3 separate regions of the Homo sapiens genome follow, and regions 1 and 3 are each linked to region 2. The links are contacts of gene promoters, found by promoter capture Hi-C in blood cells and fetal thymus (Javierre and others, 2016). All regions are on one chromosome and are shown on one strand. The core of a region is centred on a gene start or on the middle of the fragment in contact, and the rest is flanking DNA. Distances in the headings are between cores, read along the strand shown.

Region 1 (4,282 bases), core at 436-2,935, 140 kb before region 2:
GAAGTCTGTTGATTTAGCCAGAAGTGTGGGAGCACCAGTGAGAAACCAGCATTTCTAACTTACGCTTCAGCAAATGTTGCTGTAAACGGAACAGTGATATTTTCATATTACCTAACCAACTGCCAGCTCCTAATAAAAGTTTCCTCATGCAGTTTTAACAATAACACACTTTGCTATTGTTAGAAATTGTTGTAGCTCAGTGAATTTTATTCTAAAAGAAAGCTAGAATGGGGAGGGAGGAGAAAAAAAATGAGTTTAAATGACCCGAAAACTCAAGGTGGAGGAAAGCATCACTAGAGGCATTTCTGGAAGCCGCCATCTAACAATGCATGATGAAATATCACATTCCCCATCATCAGGTCATGCAAGCATGCAACTTTAAATTTTCCACAGAGGCGTGGCATTAGAAAAGATGCTAGAAAGGTGGGGTATGAAGGAAACAATCCTTCTTCCAGAGCAGAGTATACCTGAGGCGTCATTGAGGCTAAAGGCGATGCGTACAGGCTTGTCAGCAGGTACCCTGGCTGTGCTGATCATGTGGGCACCTGAGCCTCCGCCTTCTCCTGGGTCTTCCAGCTGTGACAGCAAGAGAGAGCCATTGTCACTTTATCCAGCATCATCCCCCTAAATACTCAGAGGCCCTTGGAAATTACAGGTGAAGTTATTAAGGTTAGTAAGCATTACCTGCTTATTCTAAAGATACTCCTAGTTTTGAGCTTTTTCTATGTCAAAAGTATTCATCCGCCCCATTTAAATCTTTTTTTCTTGGCTCAAGAAAAAATTGCTTTTGCAATATACATCTAGAATGAATGAAATATGGGAAATATCTCTACCTGCCTTACTTGCTCAATATCTTTTTACACGGACCAGTTCAATCCTGCCTCTTTAAGGTCATATAAAGTATTTTACTTTCAACTGAGGAGGATAAAAAGAGATATAGTCTTAATAAGGTATCAGATGGCTTCAGATTAGACTTGCTTTTCATGTTCAAAAGCCTAAATTAAATCTGAATTATTAATCTGAGAGTGGCAAAGAATGGGTTTCATGGAATCATTTAAAGAATACCAAAAGTCGCTGGGTGTGGTGGCTCATGCCTGTAACCCCAACACTTTGGGAGGCCGAGGCAGGCAGATCCCCTGAGGTCAGAAGTTCGAGACCAGCTTGACCAACATGAGAAAACCCCATCTCTATCAAAAATTCAAAAATTAGTGGGGCATGCTAGCAGGCACCTGTAATCCCAGCTACTTGGGAAGCTGAGGCAAGAAAATCGCTTGAACCCGGGAGGCAGAGGTTGCAGTCAACCGAGATCGTACCACTGCACTCCAGCCTGGGCGACAGAGTGAGACTCTGTCTAAAATAAATAAATAAATAAAGAATACCAAAAACCACTTTAAAATATCTGTTATATGATGAATATCATATGCTTTAAATATCTGATTAACTACCTGTAAGTCTACCAAACATTTCTAAGGATGCACATCTTAACACTCTATAAAAGCAAAGACAAGACTCAAAAACATCCTATAGATATTCTACTCCAGCTATCAAATCATCATTTAATTAATTAAGGTAGAATGAATGGAAAAAAAACATCCTGCAGATAAAATGGAATGGGCAAAAACACATGAATATTTCTGGTTATAATCAGAGAACTTAGCCCAAATATATTTTAACCAAGATATTTGATAATTTGATGTCTATAGGGGACTAGGAAAAGATAGTTATAAATACATGATATCTTTCTTATTTAAAAACATATATTTAACTTTTCTATTTTTAGTCCCACCTCCCCTAAACCCTCTACTTTCCTTCTCATGTAGACAGTAAACCAAAAAACCTGAATGATATTTTAAGGGAAATAGCTCTAAAAATGGCAAAGTATAAATAATCTCTTTAGCCATCCTTAAAGAGATTCTGGGAAATGCTTTAGCAGGACATTTTCTCACAGCACGGTTTCTGACTTTTTCCCATAACTTTCCTCTATCTATCTAAAAATAGTGTCCAGAACACTGAATTTTGTTTTTAAAAGTATTTATAGAGCCAAAGCCAATGCATATATATATACATGTATATTTAGACATACATACATATGGAATCATCTTACCCAGCATATGAAAAAAGATCAGGCTTATATTAAAACCCTAGTATAGCTTTGGAGAAAAACCAGCAACTGTTTATTATCCAGTTAGAATCATAATTTGGCCCATTTATTTAGCACTACAAGTAGCAATGCACCAAAAAGCTCTCCACTGTCCATATCATGTAATTCTAAGTTAGAAAGAAATAGTGACATGAAACATTTAATTTTAAAAAAGAGTAATATAAAATATCTGTTATTTGATTCAGGATTTGTTTTATCTTAACTCTGCCACCCTTCTGTCCAGTCTTACCTGCTCAGAATCAAGCATTTTGTTAGCCACCTAGGGAATGGCATGGATTGTCTCAAATTCAACAGAAGAAACCATTAAAATTCCCTTAACATTTTAGCTAAAAAGAAAAGTTTTACTGTTATGCATTGTACAATCACCGAATCACTTTAGCATAACATCTAAGGATGGAAAGTTGCACTCCTCTTTTGGCTAAATCCCCCAACACTTTCCCGCACCAAGAAATCAAGTACAAGAGGTAGAAATTTGCCTCAAGGATTTTGTAAATAGTCCTCTGGTATGGTTTCCAGCTACAGGAAATGGAATTAATAAACACAGCTAATTAGAGTCCCTCCCCTCCGCTCAATGGAGAACATCTGTCTGCCTATGAAAGGATGGTGGCAAGACTGAGTGGACTTTGAGTTCCACACCATGTTGACCACAAATGCCCCTACACCAACTTGCCTTTTCATCACACCGTCTGGGGAAACGAACCACAGGTTCCTTCTCTTGGCTACAGGCTGTAACAGAGCTTTGGTTAAGTTGCTGCTGATCTGAGCATTTAGTTCAGTTTTCACACCTGTTGGCTTACCTCACTTAGTTGAGTGTCTGCACTTGTGTAACCCAGAGCCAGCCACTGCCTTGGCCAGTCGTTGCCTTTGTGGAGTAGAGACTCAGTGAGAGACCAGGCTGCACCTGCTGCATAGCAGCCACTGACAATCTGAGGAGCGGAGACAGCTGTCAGGGCAGCACGCTGCTACCTGCTCTGCCCCAGACCCCAGCGTCCCACGGGACCTCCCTTCCCTTCCCTTCCGCTTCCCTTCACAACCCCTCTCTCCTTTCCTTGCCTCTCTAACAGCCAGGATGTTGTCATCTTTCTAGAAAAAGCAAGAGCAAAAGAAAACCCTCCTCCTGTCAGAGGCATTGATAAACAGCAAGTTGTGGGGAGTCCAAATGTTTTAATTCATTAGTCCTGGCAAACTTAAAATACAAACAGACTTGCTTCACAAGACAGGAATGTCTTCAGCGTGACCCAATCGGTGTCTGTGTCTATTCCAGCAAACTGGCAAAGATAGCATGACTCCAGTCAGCAAAAATGTCGGCCGCTCCAATCAGCTCAGCCAGACCCAGCCAACTTGGACAGGCCACAGGCTGACTCTCAGATGATAGCAGCGAGGATCCTGGTTAAGAATGTGAGGTTTGAGGTTGAGCCCATGTTGGGCTTGATGACTCGATTCATTCTTCAAATGCAACCAACCACAAAAGGAGTCAATGGTAAATAAGAATACAGCATTAGGATTTGTCAACCTTTTTAAAAACTGTAAACCTGGATGTCATTGGTACTTAAAAAATAATTGGATTGTGATTTTTGAGGTTAAATAAGCAAAATAAATATTAGGAGAAGGCAAACACAAGCCACAGACTGAAAGAAAATATGCAAAATACATATCAGATGATGGACTGGCATCCAAAATATACAATGAACTCTTAAAATTCAACAACAGAAAAACAAACAACCCAATCAAAAAATAGGCAAAAGATCTGAAAGATATCTCACTACAGAAAATATACAGATGGCAAGTAAGCATATGAAAAGATGATCAACATCATATGTCATTAGGGAATTGCAAACTAAGACAACAATGAAATACCACTATACACCTATTGGAATAACCCAAATTCAAAATACTGACAACATCAAATGTTGGTGAGGCTGTGGAGCAACAGGAACTTTCATTCCGTGCTGGTGGGAATGAAAACATAATAGTATATCCCACTTTAGTAAACAGTTGGGCAGTTTCTTACAAAAGCAAACATACTTTTACCACATGACCCAGAAATCACACTTCTTGTTATTTCCCCAAAAGCCTGCATACAGATGTTTATAGCAGGTTTATGCATAATTGCCAAAATTT
Region 2 (4,263 bases), core at 1,066-3,565:
ACTTTTTCCCACAAAAAGTCACTACAATGATCAGACTGGTATGTATTCTTGCAGATCTTTATTTTATTATTATTTTTTTTTGAGACGGAGTCTCACTTTGTCACCCAGGCTGAAGTGCAGAGGCGCGATCTTGGCTCACTGCAACCTCCACCTCCTGGGTTCAAGCAATTCTCCTGCCTCAGCCTCCCTAGTAGCTGGGATTACGGCTGCCTGCCACCATGCCCAGCTAATTTTTGTATTTTAGTAGCAACGGCGTTTCACCATGTTGGTCAGGCTTGTCTCAAACTCCTGACCTCAAGCAATCCACCCACCTCGGCCTCCCCAAGTGTTGGGATTACAGGCGTGAGCCACCGCACCCGGCCTATTCTCTGTATTTATATTATATATATATGCATAAATATATATATATATATATTATTGTGTTGTGGGTTTTAAAAACACAAATGGTATCATACTGTATATATTGGTATTTGCTTTTTATTTAAGAATGTGTCTTAGAATTCTTCCTATGTGTGTTCAGATAAACCTTATTCTTCTTAAATGTTGCCTAATAGCTTATTGAATACATATAATTTATTTAGCAGTTCTCCAATATATAGACATAGGTTGCTTACAATTATCTTTCTATTATAAAGTTTTTGTGAACCTCCTGTAATATGTCTCTTTGTGTGACTTTTTTCTGAGACAGTCTGCTCTGTCACCCAGGCTGGAGTGCAGTGGCATGATCTTGGCTTACTGCAACCTTCGCCTCCCGGGTTCAAGAGATTCTCGTGCCTCAGCCTTCCAAGTAGCTGGGATTGCAGGCACCTGCCACCACTGCCCAGCTAATTTTCGTATTTTTAGTAGCGATGGGTTTTTGCCATGTTGGCCAGGCTGGTCTCGAACTCCTGACTTCAGGTGATCCACCTGCCTCGGCCTCCCACAGTGGTGGGATTACAGGCATAAGCCACTGCACCTGGCTTTTGTGTGCATTTTAAAATCAGGGTCCAGTCAGGAAAACAGAAATCACATTAGTTATTGAGAAATATTTTAATATGGGAAATTGGTCAAAAGGAATTATAAAAGGTAACAGGTAATCACTGCAGGTAGCAGCTACCATTCCTAGAGCTAGGAAAGGATGGAACAAAAGAAGTGGTTGGAGTCATCAGAACCTAAAAGCTTGAAGGAGGGCCCTGAACACCTTAGTTCAGGCCTATGAAGAATGAAGAGAGGGTGATGGCTGGCTGTTACTGGATCTCTGGAGCACAAAGAAGGGATCCCACGGTGTTGAGGCTCAAACTTCTGAGGAGGTGGCTCAAACATTGGCTATCTCAGGAGCTCAGGGGAGGGGCCGCATGAAAGTAGAATTCAGATCTCTGAGGAGAGCACTGACTGCTGCTGTGATCTCTGAGGGGTGCAATAAGGCTGATTCTGTGATTGTTGGAAAAAGGATAGAGATTAAAACCACCTTTTGGCTAAAGCAATTGCTCCTGCCACGGTAAAATGCAGCTGCTGCTGGCATGATGCTTACAGAATGGAGCAAGTCCCTTCTTCCTCTTGCCTTTGTTTCCCTCTTGTTCGTCCTGTTGGTGGAATCTAGCAGAAGCCCCCCCAGTAACATGGAGTTGAGTATAAAAGGGTGACTGCGTGGACAAGAAACAATAACCAGCACACATTTACTTGTTTCTCTGGTGTGATTCTGAGTCGCACAATCAATGGGTTACAGGATTTGTACATTTCAAATTTTAATAGGGACTCCCACATTATCCTCTTTCCTAAACTGCACGTTAACAGTTTCAATATGAATAAAAGGGGACGGGGAGGGGAGATTTAGAGAGAATAGTGCCTACAGCAGTAATCAAATTTTAACAAGACTTGGGAATACTGTCAAAATGCAGGATCTGATTCAGGAGTTCTGAGGGGCCCGAGTTGGCCTTTTCTAAAAAACGCCCAGGTGATACTGATGATTGCATCATGTTGGAAGTCTAAAACACTCCCATCTTCCCACAGCCTCTACCATAACATTCTAATGCTACCCTTATGTGAAACTGCCCCTCTGATGATTCACGCCAGTTTCCTACCCTCTAAGCAAGGAACAAACCTAGCTTCTGAAAGCGGGGAGGACAGGATTTGGCGCCACGGGTCCAATGCTTGGCTTCCTATTGGCCAGGAATGACATCACTCAGACAGGCGTGGCTTTAGCTGTGACGTCTCCGGTGGCGGATGGTCAGGGACACAGCGGGAGGCGGGAGCGGAAGTGGGGCAGCAAATGGACAGGGTGGGTGGCGGAAAAGGGCCCGGGGGAAGTTATTACAGGGTGTCCTCTTCCGCCGCCAGAAGCCGGAAGTTGTGTCCCGGACGTGTCAACCGGGGTCTGAGTGCTCAGAGTACAGCTGCAACCGCGACCATGGGCGGGAAGAACAAGCAGCGAACTAAAGGGAACCTGAGGGTGAGCGGGGGCTGGCTCGGCCGACCCGGGAGCCTCGCTTCGAGGCGGCTGGCTCCGCCCAGCGCGTTGCTGGAGGGTGTGTGGAGCGCGGCTGTAGGGAGGCGTGTGTTTCCCTGTCGAGTGTGACCTCTCTGTTGTGTGTGCGTCCCTGAGAGCGGTTTGTGTTATCTCTGAGCAGATTGGGGAATCGTGAGAGAAAAGATGTACCATGCCAGAGCTGTCCTCATCCGAGCACACACCCATAATATTCATGAAGAAATGATAATGTGTCAGGTTCACTGGAAGGTGATCTGGCCGAGGTAGCGGGTTGGTTGGGGGAGGGCGGCGCTGGGAAGAAGGAGAGTTGGGAGAATGTTAAAGTGAATCCACTGTGGAGGTTACCGCAGATTGTGCCTCTCCTTTGCTACCTACAGTGGCTTCTCCTAAGCTAAAGCTCTTAGGATGGTATATTTGGTTTCTGGACTGCCTGTTACCCCTTTCCATCTGCAGTCCCATCTTCAGCTCCCTCCTCTTGGCTTACTTCATCCAGCCACACTGATCTCTTCACTGTGCCTTGACTACCTGGCCGGCTCCCAACGCTCTTCAGTTAGGTGGCTCCAAACTTTGCTCTCGACACCTCAGTGAGGTCTCCCATGATCACCCTCTTGGTAGCCCTTCCCCACTCCCATGTTCTTCCTACTTTATTTTACTCCATTGTATTTATGACATTTATTGTCTTGGTTCACTAGGACGTAAGTATTTTGAAAGCAAATGTTTTTATCCTCGGAACCTAGAACAGACTGGCACCTAATAGACGCTCACTAAGTACTTGCTTAAGGACGACCTTAAAGTGGATTCGTGTAAAACTACACGATGAGGGGTTTTGTAATGGTATTTTTTTATGGTGTTAGATTTATTATAGCACAGTCCAATTTTATGAGAATGCTTTTTTTTCCTGTTTCTGATGTAGTTAATTCTAGTGATTTCAATGTCACATTTTCTTAGATCTGTCACTTAATCTGTTTTGGAAGATAATAACAGTATTAACAATTATAGCAACCTGTTGTGTTACTGTGCTAAGCACTTTACTTGCATCTTTTAATGTTTTTTATTTAACAGATTTTCTCAAATGTTTTATATTTGAAAAGTTCTTATGAGGAAAAGTTGCAAGAATATTAGAACGACATCCCATATACTCTTTACCTACATTTACCAATTGCTAATACTTGGTTGCATTTGCTTTCTCTCTCTTAATTTATGTATTTTTCTGAACTTATAAGAGTTAGTTGCAGAAGTCGGGACTCTTAACTCCTAAATACATCAGCATGTATCTTCTAAAAACAATGCCATTTTCTAGCCTGCAGCAATTATAATAATGGTTATAGTATGCAGAAACTTTGACTTTTGTATAATACTGTAATCCAGGATACAGCCTTGTATTTAGACTTCTGTAGTTATCCCAATAATGTTCTCTTTTTTCTTTTTTTTTTTTTTGTAAGACAGGGTCGCTCTGTCTCCAAACCTGGAGTGTGGTGGTATGATCATGGCCCACTGCAGTGTCAACCTCTTGGGCTCAAGCGGTCAGTCCTCCCACCTCAGCCTCCTTAGTAGCTAGGACTCCTGGCTAATCTTTTTTTTTTTTTTTTCGGGGACAGAGTCTGGCTCTGTTACCCAGGCTGGAGTGCAGAGGCGTGAACTTGGCTCACTGCAATCTCCGCCTCTCGGGTTCAAGTGATCCTCCCAGCTTAGCCTTTCCAGTAGCTAGGACTACAGGTACAGGCCATCACGGCTAGCTTATTTTTGTAGGGACAGAGTTTTGCCATGTTGCCCAGGCTGGGACTTTTTTAAAAAGATAA
Region 3 (4,007 bases), core at 1,052-3,551, 160 kb after region 2:
AAAAAAATAGTTAATTCTCTTTAGCAGTTTGCTAGTATATTAACTTTCACCTCCTACAAATATGATATTTTAGTAAACAGTTATACTATATACCTTACAAAATCTGAATTAAACAGTGTTTTTTGTTTTCTGTCTTGTGTACGTATAGTAAAAATGACACAGAATACAAACAGCTATGGAACATGAGTGTGACAATACTCAGCATATAGGTATTAGGGACCCATCACTGTTTGAAAGGTGATACTGTTTCTTTCTTTCTTTCTTTCTTTCTTTCTTTCTTTCTTTCCTTCCTTCCTTCCTTCCTTCCTTCCTTCCTTCCTTCCTTCCTTCCTTCCTTCTTTCTTTCTTTCTTTCTTTCTTTCTTTCTTTCTTTCTTTCTTTCTTTCCTTCCTTCTTTCCTTCTTTCCTTCTTTCCTTCTTTCCTTCTTTCCTTCTTTCCTTCTTTCTTTCTTTCCTTCTTTCCTTCTTTCCTTCTTTCCTTCTTTCCTTCTTTCCTTCTTTCTTTCTTTCTTTCTTTCTTTCTTTCTTTCTTTCTTTCTTTCTTTCTTTCTTTCTTTCGTTCTTTTCTTTCTTTTTGAGATAGAGTCTCGCTCTGTCACCCAGGCTGGAGTACAGTGGCATGTTCTTGGCTCCCTGCAACTCTGCCTCCCAGGTTCAAGTGATTCTCCTGCCTCAGCCTCCTGAGTAGCTGGGATTACAGGCGCCCGCTACCACGCCCAGCTAATTTTTGTATTTTTAGTAGAGACGGGGGTTTCGCCATCTTGGCCAGGCTGGTCTTGAACTGCTGACCTCAAGTGATCCACCCACCTCGGCCTCCCAAAGTGCTGGGATTATAAGCATGAGCCATAGCTCCCAGCTAATACTGTTCTTTTTTGTGAGTTTTAATCACTAAGTTTCTTCTGTTTGCGTAGCTATGACACATGGCATCCCTCCTGCCCCTACAAATTGATTTCTACTCCTTTACTGAATACCAGTGGTCCTGGGCTCATAAATCTACAAAGTGGAATCCAGAAGAAATCAGAATAAAAGACAATACATATTTTAAAAAATTTTCTACAGATGGATAGAATACTAATTTTCCATTTCCTTTCTTCCTTTCACCTTCTATTCTTTCTGATACCATTCTTTTTTTTTTTTTTTTTTAAAGATGGAGTCTTGCTCTGTCACCCAGGCTGGAGTGCAGTGGCACGAACTTGGCTCACTGCAACTTCCTCCTCCTGGGTTCAAGCGATTCTCCTGCCTCAGCCTCCCAAGTAGCTGGGATTGCATGCGCCTGCCACCATGCCCGGCTAATTTTTTGTATTTTTAGTAGAGACAGTGTTTCACCATGTTAGCCAGAATGGTCTTGATCTCTTGACCTCATGATCTGCCCACCTTGGTCTCCCAAAGTGCTGGGATTACAGGCGTGAGCCACGCGCCTGGCCTCCATCCATACATTTTTTTAAAAAATAAACAACATTTTGAAGATATTGTAGAGTCTGTTCTCACACTGCTATAAAGAACTACCTGACCTGGATAATTTATGAAGAAAGAGGTTTAATTGACTCACAGTTCCATAGGCTGTACAGGAAGCATGGCTGGAAGGTCTCAGGAAACTTACCGTCATGGCAGAAGGTGAAGGGGAAGCAAGCACGTCTCACCATGGTAGAAAGAGAGAGAGAGTGAAGGGGGGGAAGTGCCACACACCTTTAAACATTTATCAGATCTCGTGAGAACTTACTATCGCAAGAGCAAGGGAGAAATCTGCCCCCATGATCCAATTACCTCCCACCAGATCCCTCCCCCAACATTGGGAATTACAGTTTGACATGAGATTTGAGTGGGGACACAGAGCCAAACCATATCAAATATTTTCTGCCGTAAGTGTCTGGATGTACCATACCCAGGGTTCTCAGTTTTAGATAACATAATTGTTATCTAATTATACAGATATAAGATATACTCTCAGCCTGGAGGACTAGTCTCTGGCAAGAATTCAGGGAGACAAAATGTGGCTAAGATCTTAGTGTAGGAAGAGCCCACCCTTCTCTGACTGGGAGCAGACAGATCTTCTCCCTCTTAGGATTCCGTATTGGGAGTTGGGACCTCTGCCTACCATCTTTCCAGGAATTTTCTCCAAATGAACAGGACATTTCATGACAGTTTGCCAAAATGAAACACGTTCATTATAATGGGTATCAATGAAATTTTCACTCTGATATGAACCACATCTTTGTTTTCCAAAGTTTTAGAAACAGAGTGTATGTTCTTGTAAACTAATTGGTCTAGGGAAAATACCTCTTTGAGAGGACATAATTAACTCTCCCTACTCAGATGTCTTAAAATCCATGGAGTTTTGTCTTAAAAAGAATTGCTGCAGCTGAGAATGGGATACTGCCTTAGTCTGTTTTGTGCAGCTGTAACAGAATACCTGAGACTGGATAATTTGTAATGAACAGAAATTTATTGGTTCATAGTTCTTTAGTTGGGAAGTCCAAGATTGAAGCACTGGTATCTATCAGGGACCTTCTTGCTGTGTCATCTCATGGTGAAAGGCATAGGATGTCAGAGGGCAAAAAGAGGATGGGAGAGAGGAAAGGTGACTGACCTTATTTTATAAGGAACCTACTTCCACACATTCATCTATTCATAAATGCAGAGCCCTCATGTTCTAATTACCTCTCATTGGAACCTACCTCCCAACAAACACTGTTGCATTAAAGGTTAAGTTTCCAACATATGCTTTCTGAGGGACACATTCAAACCTTAGCAGATACCAAGGGGCAACTCACAACTAACAAGACTTGGGTAATGGTAGATGACTAAGTGCTTACTGTGTAATTAGCAATTTCACTTGTTCTAAAGAAGCATTTCTCAAGAGACAGCTGCAGTCCATCTTCATCAAAATCGTTAAAAATGAAGATTGTTGAGGATCCCTCCAGGCCTTCAGAATTAGAAATTTTAAGAGGAGCTCTTGAAGTCAGCAATTTTTATAAATCCCCAGATGAACTTTAAACCCACTAAAGTTTGAGAAACACCAGGAATGTAAAGGAATGCAGGTCTATTAAAAATTGTTAAAGCTCTTGTTAAAATCACTCATTTTCAGCCTGTCCTCTCCCTGCTTATAATAATCACTGTATATATAGTTTTATTAAATATTGCATTTATATTTTACTAAGAAAGATGCTATTCTAAGGCTTAATGAATTAAAAAAAACAGGTTGTTGCAGCTGAGTCGGTTTCTTCACAGAGATGGATATTCGTAAAGTGTTAGGTGGCTATTTGGGTGAAAGATCAACAAGCCCACTGGAAACTTTTGGAAGGTGAGCTGGCATGGAATTTCTGGAAGAAAGGGAACATTTTCTGACAGCAGTTGGTCAATGCAGAACTTTCAGATAATGATGGATTGGCAGTCGAAGGGCTACCTAAGCTAAGTGTCACCAAAGTGCCTTTGGTCTGTTTGACCTGCTTAGTGTCTAGTAGCTTCTTAGTTTAGAAAAAACTGAAGGCTGCTTCAATTTATTTACAAATGTGTTGTTCGGAACTGGTGCCACTATTATGAGTGTTCACCTAGTAGTTCTTAGAGCCTCATTCGTATTAGAGTTACCTACATTCTCTACTTCTTGTTGGCACATGAAGCATTAAAATGAGGGCTTCAAGGTCACTTTAGAGGAGAAAAGCCCCTCAAATCAACTCCCCTCTTTCCTTAGCTTGAAATCTCTCATGATAAGCCCAACATGTGCATCTAAATCCCACTGCTCCACCCCTTCCTCCTTACTTACTGTGTCACGGGGTTTTAAACCCTTGGAGTTGGGCACATCTGCACACAAATCCTGTTTCCATCACCTGTAGTCTGCAGGCTTTGTGGGTCTTACGCTTATATCAGTTTCGAAATACTCTTTCAAAAATAGATAAGAAAATGTATGAACATGCAAACATGTTTCTAAGAACCCTTTCTGGAACCTTAGAAAAGCCTATGCTAGTGGAGGACTTGTAGCCTAAGCTACAAGGGGTAAGTTACCTGATACT

The links. Contacts are between HindIII fragments. The CHiCAGO score rates a contact against its expected background, and 5 or more counts as called.
Region 1: a fragment that was not itself captured here is called in contact with the fragment with the promoter of LTN1 in region 2 in 1 of 17 cell types (neutrophils); the score reaches 6.2 in neutrophils.
Region 3: a contact is called between a fragment that was not itself captured here and the fragment with the promoter of LTN1 in region 2, in 1 of 17 cell types (non-activated CD4 T cells). The highest score is 5.2, in non-activated CD4 T cells.

The regions. Positions count from the first base shown.
Region 1 is chr21:29,129,600-29,133,881 of GRCh38, reverse strand. It overlaps MAP3K7CL (MAP3K7 C-terminal like), which reads right to left and starts at 3,238. Exons shown (of 5, transcript NM_001286620.2): 1 at 2,959-3,238; 2 at 468-576. The coding sequence starts at 537. RefSeq lists an enhancer at 1-141. The HindIII fragment of the contact is 6,543 bases long and covers 1-4,282 here.
Region 2 is chr21:28,990,929-28,995,191 of GRCh38, reverse strand. LTN1 (listerin E3 ubiquitin protein ligase 1) reads left to right here and starts at 2,315. Exons shown (of 30, transcript NM_015565.3): 1 at 2,315-2,428. The coding sequence starts at 2,387. LOC105372766 (a long non-coding RNA gene) reads right to left here and starts at 2,089. Exons shown (of 3, transcript XR_007067835.1): 1 at 2,061-2,089; 2 at 1,511-1,622; 3 at 1,011-1,410. RefSeq lists enhancers at 2,031-2,090, 2,401-2,510. The HindIII fragment of the contact is 7,723 bases long and covers 1,161-4,263 here.
Region 3 is chr21:28,828,014-28,832,020 of GRCh38, reverse strand. It overlaps a transcript of HEMK2 not described here. Among named protein-coding and RNA genes, the nearest start is that of HEMK2, 55 kb to the left of the region's middle. The HindIII fragment of the contact is 4,724 bases long and covers 1-4,007 here.